Linked DNA regions of Homo sapiens: region 2 is linked to region 1. Evidence: promoter capture Hi-C in human tissues and cell types (Jung and others, 2019). All regions are on one chromosome and are shown on one strand. The core of a region is centred on a gene start or on the middle of the fragment in contact, and the rest is flanking DNA. Distances in the headings are between cores, read along the strand shown. Region 1 holds the start of KCNK7 (potassium two pore domain channel subfamily K member 7). Region 2 has its middle 9.7 kb from the start of AP5B1.

The links. Contacts are between HindIII fragments. The study calls those that stand out against the background at their distance.
Region 2: a contact is called between a fragment that was not itself captured here and the fragment with the promoter of KCNK7 in region 1, in 3 of the 25 tissues and cell types used here (dorsolateral prefrontal cortex, lymphoblastoid cells and spleen).

Annotation. Positions count from the first base shown.
Region 1 is chr11:65,594,026-65,597,853 of GRCh38, reverse strand. It overlaps KCNK7 (potassium two pore domain channel subfamily K member 7), which reads left to right and starts at 2,054. Exons shown (of 3, transcript NM_033347.2): 1 at 2,054-2,400. The coding sequence starts at 2,082. MAP3K11 (mitogen-activated protein kinase kinase kinase 11) reads left to right here. Exons shown (of 10, transcript NM_002419.4): 10 at 1-97. The HindIII fragment of the contact is 18,543 bases long and covers 1-3,828 here.
Region 2 is chr11:65,769,366-65,773,193 of GRCh38, reverse strand. No RefSeq gene overlaps it. Among named protein-coding and RNA genes, the nearest start is that of AP5B1, 9.7 kb to the left of the region's middle. The HindIII fragment of the contact is 6,006 bases long and covers 1-3,828 here.

The DNA of each region.
Region 1 (3,828 bases), core at 805-3,304:
CTCTGGATGCCTTCCTGCTGCCCCAGCCAGGGTTGGAGTCTTAGCCTCGGGATCCAGTGAAGCCAGAAGCCAAATAAACTCAAAAGCTGTCTCCCCACATGTAGCCTGTCACCTTTCTTGGAGGTAACCAGGTGACCCAACCTATCATACAACCCTGGTGTCCTGATGCCCCAACAATAGGCAGTTGGATGCCTTGTACTGCATGCCTCTCCTGGGACCAAATCCACCAGCCTTGGTCAGTCATTCAAGGCTCTTCTCGGCCAGGTGCAGTGGCTCACTCCTGTCATCACAGCAGTTTGGGAGGCCGAGGCCGGCGGATCACATGAGGTCAGGAGTTCAACCTGGCCACATGGTGAAACCCCATCTCTACTAAAAATACAAAAATTAGCCAGGTGTGGTGGTGCATGCCTGTAGTCCCAGCTACTCTGGAGGCTGAGGCAGGAGAATTGCTTGAACCTGGAAGGTGGAGGTTGCAGTGAGCCAAAATCACGCCACTGCACTCCAGCCTGGGCAACAGAGCAAGACTCCGTCTCAAAAAAAAAAAAAACAAAAAACCATAGGCCGGGCATGGTGGCTCACGCCTGTAATCCCAGCACTTTGGGAGGCCGAGACGGACAGATCACAAGGTCAGGATTTTGAGACCAGCCTGGCCAATATGGTGAAACCCCGTCTCTACTGAAAAAAATATATATATATACAAAAATTAACCAGGCGTGGTGGCAGGTGCCTGTAGCCCCAGCTACTTGGGAGGCTGAGGCAGGAGAATAGCTTGAACCCGGGCGGCGAAGGTTGAGTGAGCCGAGATTGCACCACTGCACTCCAGCCTGGGCGACAGAGCGAGACTCCATCTCAAAAAAAAGAGTAGTAAGTTCCACCCACCTCCCAGTATGGTGACTTGCCATGGCATCTGGCACCCCTGACAGTTCTCTTCACACTGCCATGGGGGCTCTGGCACTCCCACACCATACCCTAGGGCAGGGTCCCTCCCTCGGCCTCTGTCCATTCTCTTCACACTGCCATGGGGGCTCTGGCACTCCCACACCATACCCTAGGGCTGGGTCCCTTCCTTGGCCTCTGTCCTCAGCCCCTCTGACGTTAGAGGAGTTGGAACCCAGGCTCCCCCTTCCCCTCTCCCAGGTGCCCCATGGCAGCCCAGACTCTGTGTCTGCAGTTCAGGGGCAGGGAGTCAGGAGGGCAGGCACAAAGCGTTCTCAGGAAGAACTGGCAATCGGGCGCAAGGGTATCATCTGCCCGGGTGCTCTGGGCACCCTGGAGTCCTCTCCCCACCTCCCACCCCCACCTGATCCTTCCCAGCTGCCACCATTCCTCTCCCACCACACCACCCAGGCCAAAATCACTCCATCCATGACGCCTACAGTAGCCCAGCGTAGGTCTCCCTGGACCACATTTATCCTCAAGGGCCTGTGTCCTTATCCCCCCTTCACCCCCAACTCTCCCCTGCCACAGCCAGCCCTCTGTTCCTCTCACACCCCAAGCTCATTCCTACCTTCACTGGCCTCTTACTCCCCAGCTGAAATATCACCTCCTTAGCAGAGCTTTCCCAGTGAGATAACCCCCCCGCTCCCCGCAGAGCTCTCCCATCACCCAGGGTGTTTCCTTCATGGAACTCATGACAATGTGAGGTTGCCATGTTTCTTTGCTAAGAGGTTTCTTGTGTAAACACCAGGAAGGAAAGGACCTGTGCCTGTCCTCTTCCCTAAGCACTTGAATGAATGAATGAATGAATGAATGTGGTATGGGTGCCTGAGTGAGCAGGACCTTGAATAAGTGTGAGGTCCTCTCTAGGCTTCAGCTTCCTCCGCCTCCTCCCCTCACCGCAGCCGCCTTCCTCCACCCATCCCCACCATCCCAGCTGCTGTGAAATGGGCAAATGTCTTGCCTCCAGGACCTGGGAAGGGTGATGCAGCTCACCTCCCTCCTGTTCACACCCCAGCCACCCCAGCCATCCCAGCCGGGTCCCAGCCACCCACACAGCACCTCCTCCTGGCCCCGCCCTGCCCAGCCCCTCCCAGGTGCCTGAGGTGGAGCCGCCAGTTCCCACAGCACCCCAGCGGCCTGCCATGGGGGGTCTAAGGCCCTGGTCCCGATACGGGCTCCTGGTTGTGGCCCACTTGCTGGCCCTGGGGCTTGGGGCTGTGGTGTTCCAGGCCCTGGAGGGGCCTCCTGCATGCAGGCTTCAGGCTGAGCTCAGGGCAGAGCTGGCAGCCTTCCAGGCAGAGCATAGGGCCTGCCTGCCACCCGGAGCTCTGGAAGAGCTGCTGGGCACTGCCCTGGCCACCCAGGCCCATGGGGTCTCCACCCTGGGCAACAGCTCAGAGGGCAGGACCTGGGACCTTCCCTCAGCCCTGCTCTTCGCTGCCAGCATCCTCACCACCACAGGTAAGAGAGCCAGGCAGCCAAGTCGGGGGGTGCGGCTCCAAGAGGCCATGGCTCCCTGGGGGCTTTGGGGTTCATGCAGCCCTTCCTTCAGCCCCAAAGAGCCAGATGGAGCCCAGGCCCTGTGAGGCCTGACATCACAGCTGGGGCTCCCCACCAACACACCCCAACTGGTGCCTCCACTTCAACTGCCAGGAAGGGTGTGGCCTCCCCAGTCCCACCCCAGGCACCCTTTGAGACCCAGGAGAGCTGCCCAGATGCCACAGCCTGTGGCCAGATAGGGGATACAATACAGTGGGATGGATTCTTGGATGGAAGCAAATAGAATGAACCTGGGAAGGACAGATCAGGACCATGGCCTCGGGTGGGGGAGTGAGGGAAGATAGGGGAGGAAGTCGGCATGAGATGCTTGTGGATCAGGAGGGCACAGACAGGGATGAGGGAGTCCTGCAGAGAAATCGCGTGGGCACAGGCCCAGGGAAAAGCAGCAATGAGACCCACAGCCCTGGGTTTTCGTATTTTTTGCCCCACAAAGTGTCTCAGTATTTTTTGAATTGGAATTTGTATTTCCAACTTTTTTTTTTTTTGAAACGGTGTCTGACCCTGTCACCCAGGCTGGGGTGCGGTGGTGCGATCTTGGCTCACTGCAACCTCCACCTCCCGGGTTCTAGCAATTCTCCTGCCTCAGCCTCCTGAGTAGCTGGGACTACAGGCATGCACCACCATGCCCGGCTAATTTTTGTGTTTTTAGTAGAGACGGGGTTTTGCCATGTTGGCCAGGCTGTTCTCAAACTCCTGACCTCAAGTGATCCACCTGCCTCAGCCTCCCAAAGTGTTGGGATTACAGGTGTGAGCCACTGTGCCCAGCTCATATTTCCAACTTCTTTTGGAAAATCAGGAAACCCACTCACACTGAGCCAGAATCCCTGCAAGGCAACATCCTGACTGGAGCAGAATGGGGCCTGCCCTTTGGATACAGCTCACACTTTCCAGTGTACCCCTGTCCCCACCACTCCTGTTTGTCTCCCATCTGGCTCCGGTAGGCATGTGCGTTTGCAGCTCTGTATTAGCTGATCCTGTTCTCCCAGCACACCCCGCACTCCCACCCCTCCCCGCCTGGCACATGCCCTCTCTCGCCCATGCTGCCTCTTTGCAGCCCTTCATGATTTGCCTGCCCGACTCCCCCACCAGAAGGGGCAGGGCCTGGGCTGATTCAGATCCCAGTACAAAGCCTGGCACACAGGACATGACACACATTTGGGGAAAGAGTGGATGATATTCCACCAGCTGTGGAATCGGGAGTATCTGTTAAGGGCAGCGCAGTTCTCAGAATTGTCCCAGCTACAAAAGGCCTGAGGAACTGTCTTCTTTCATCCTTTCATTTTCCAAAAAAGAAAAGAATGGCCTAGAGAGGGTAAGGGATCCCCTGAC
Region 2 (3,828 bases), core at 495-2,994, 180 kb before region 1:
GTCAGAACCACTTTCATGAATATTCATAGCTCCTCATGTAACCTGTTGAATGTGTATGTTTAGTCAATCCATTGAGCATGAAGCTCCTACCCTAACCCCTCCTTCTTTGAAGTGCCTGTCTCTGGTCTTGGCTGGAGACATGCTTCCCAGCAGGTCTCACTCCCTTTCTGAGGCTGGAGTGCAGTGGTGCGATCATAGCTCACTACAACCTCAAACTCCTGGGCAAAAGTGATCCTCCTGCCTCAGCCTCCGGGGTGGCTAAGACTACAGGTGCATGCCACCACACCTGGCTAATTTGTAAAATTTTTTGTAGAGATGGGTTCTTACTATGTTGTCCAGGCTGGTTAAGGCCTCCTGGGTTCAAGTGATCCTCCTGCCTTGGCCTCCCAAAGTGCTGGGATTATAGGTGTGAGCCACCAGGCCCAGCCTAACCCTTTATAAGAAATAAAGTCTCCTCTCAAAATTTATAAATTGTGTATCTTTTCTTTTTTTCGTTAACAATTATCAATAATACACTTTATATGAAACAAGGGAAAAGATGGGGAAAGATATCGGTTAATCTCTATTTTACATGCAAGGAAGAAAGTATGAATCTTTTGTGCAATGAGTTACGAGGCCCTAATTAGGGTTCCTAGGTTTAGCAAATAAAAATATTATATAGGATGTGCATTTAAGTTTGAATTTTGGAGAAGCAATGAATTTTTTAGTTGTTAATAGGACATACTTACACTAAAAAACCAGTAGTTGTTTCTCCAAGGTTCAGATATAAGTGGTGGGTTTTTTTTGTTGTTTTTGTTTTTTTCTTTTTTTTTTGAGACAGTCTTGCTCTGTTGCCCAGTCTGGAGTGCAGTGGTGTGATCTTGGCTTACTGCAACCTCTGCCTCCTGGGTTCAGCCTATTCTTGTGCCTCAACCTCCTGAGTAGCTGAGATAACAGGCATGTGCCACCACACCTGGCTAATTCTTGTATTTTTAGTAAAGACAAGGTTTTGCCATGATGGCCAGGCTGGTCTCCAACTCCTGGCCTCAAGTGATCCACCCGCCTCAGCCTCCCAAGGTGCTGGGGTTACAGGTGTGAGCCACTGTGCCCGGGCTATAACCAGTGTTAAATCTCGTTTAGCCTAAAGCTGCCTCCTTACATATTTTAAGTTTGGCCTAAAGGTTTCTCTGTACATCGTAAACTATAACCTAAATGGACTTGTAAACAGACTGTAGCCAACGCTTGTGGCAATCACTGAGTTTTGGCTAATCAAAGGTGGCCAACTGTTCAAACTGTGTTCAGATAAGACAAACACCAATCTGTAACCAATCTGGCTGGTTTCTATATCTCACGTGTGTTTTCTGTACTTCATTTTCCTTTCTGTCCATAAATCTTCCACCACGTGGCTGCACTGGAGTCTCTGAGCCCACTCTGGCATGAGAGGCTGCCTGATTCTTGAATTGTTCTTTGCTCAGTTAAACACTGTGAAACTTACCTGAGCTAAAGTTTTCCTTTTAACACTGAGCATCCTGTATTTTATCTGTTAACCCTGGATTGATATTTACAACTTCTTTCTTCCATACCCATTCTATGTTCCTTTGGTTCTTTTACTTCATGAGGTGACCCAAACTTCATTCCTGAAGGGTCTGAGTCCTTGGTTATTCTGCTTGTATTGAGTCACTTGAGGCTTTCATTAACACTGTCACTGAACCTGGCAATCCTCAGAGATATTTCAGGGGATCCCCTGGATACGATGGACTCCTTGTCTCCGTTGTATGGCAGCAACAGCTTCTCGGTGGACAGTCAGGGTCAGTCTTCCTCTTAGAGCTCTTGGTCCTGAGGCAAAGCGACAGCGGGGCAGCCTTTACTTCCGGTTCAAAAAAAGCTATGCAGTGTCCATTCCTGGCGGCATTCTCCCTTGGACACTGAGGCCTCTGAACCTTCAATGGAATGGGAAGACAATATTTTGTCAGAGGCTTTCAGGTAGGAGGACAATGGTAGCACTGTAGGTCCCCAGTGTCGCCTAGAAAAACAATATGGAATGAGGAGAAAAGATAAAATTATGCAACAGCAAGCCCTCAGGATAACTTGGAGACAAGAATGCTCAAACTTAAAAAGAACAAGAAAAACAAATAACATAGAAATTACCTGGCCGGGCGTGGTGACTCACGTTTGTAATCCCAGCACTTTGGGAGGTTGAGGTGGACAGATTCCTTGAGCCCAGGAGTTCGAAACTAGCCTGGGCAACATGGTGAAAACCTGTCTTTACAAAAAATACAAAAATTAGCTGGGTGTGGTTGTGTGCACCTGCAGTTCTAGCTACTTGGGAGGCTGAGATATGAGGATTATTTGAGCCTAGGAGGTCCAGGCTGTACTGAGCTTTGATTGCACCACTGCACTCCAGCCTGGGTGACAGAGTGAGACAAGAAAGAAAGAAAAAAGAAAGAAAGAGAAGAGAAGAAAAGAAAGAAAAAGGAAAAACAAATGGCAGCTCAGACTTTCCTTCCCACGCACCCATTCCAGCCCCACCTGCCACAAGACTGGCTGAGGAAAACTGGGGCAAAGGAGAGGAGGGAGTTGTAATGGGGCTTAAGCTTGATCTAAGACCTCACCAAAAACACTAAGTACACCTTGAGCCTGAAAATGTTCAAAAGTGTCTGCAGTAGTGTCAGAGCTGGGACAATAGGTGGGAGGTTTAAAAGTACACGTGAGGCCAGGCACGGTGGCTCACGCCTGTAATCCCAGCACTTTGGGAGGCCAAGACGGGTGGATCACCTGAGGTCAGGAGTTCGAGACCAGCCTGGCCAACATGGTGAAATCCCATCTCTACTAAAAATACAAAATTAGTCAGGTATGGTGGCATGTGCCTGTAGTCCCAGCTACTCAGGAGGCTAAGGCAGGAGAATCGCTTGAACCGAGGAGGTGGAGGTTGCAGTGAGCTGAGACTGTGCCACTGCACTCCAGCCTGGATGACAGAGCGAGACTTTGTCTCAAAAAAAAGTTATACGTGAAATGTGAAGCCACAGTCTTGGAAACACATAGATCCTTGGGGAGCAACTACCCACAAAAGAAAGGAAAAGTGTCCTTTGGCATTTGGGTGTGAAGAGAGAGGCAAATGGAGAAGTTTAATTGCCCTCCAAGACAAAAAAAAAAAGAAGGCCCACAACCCCCACCCCTGCAAAAACAAATTCACTAAAGCATCTGGACTTCACAATGTTGCCAGAAGAGGGCGTGTTATCTAGGGATCTTGTAAAACACCCAATACCACAAAAATGAATAATGAAAAGATAGGTTCATACAGCTATTGCAAAATATCAGAAAATGAATTTCATCACATATGAACCAAGGAAAATTCACACAAACCTCTGAAACAATAGCCATGAAGAAGAAGAAAGCTGTAATACAACACTAAACAGAACCAAATATATGCAAAACAAGCATTTGAAGACATGCAAAACCATTTTGGGTGGGAAATTTAAAAACAAAGAACAGAAATAGACAAAATAGAGGAAGAAATGAAAATAGATTTGGTTGAACTCAGGAAAGAAATGGAATAAACAGACAAAATTATCTAGAAGTAAAGATTAAATTACAAGATGCCCAAGGGAGAATAAATTCAAATAAAAATTTAATAAGGGGCATTGAAGGAATACAGGTAACCAAGCAAGAGAATGAAAATGAGATAAAGAAGTAGGCTGGGTCCAAAGAAAGTAATGGAAACAGAATATACTCAAAGAAGGAATCACATGTGTATTATTGGAGTCCCTGAAGAAAAAATAAACAAGTAAACCACAACTAATATTTAACACTGTAAGAAAACTGTCCAGGAGCAAAAACTCTGCACATTGG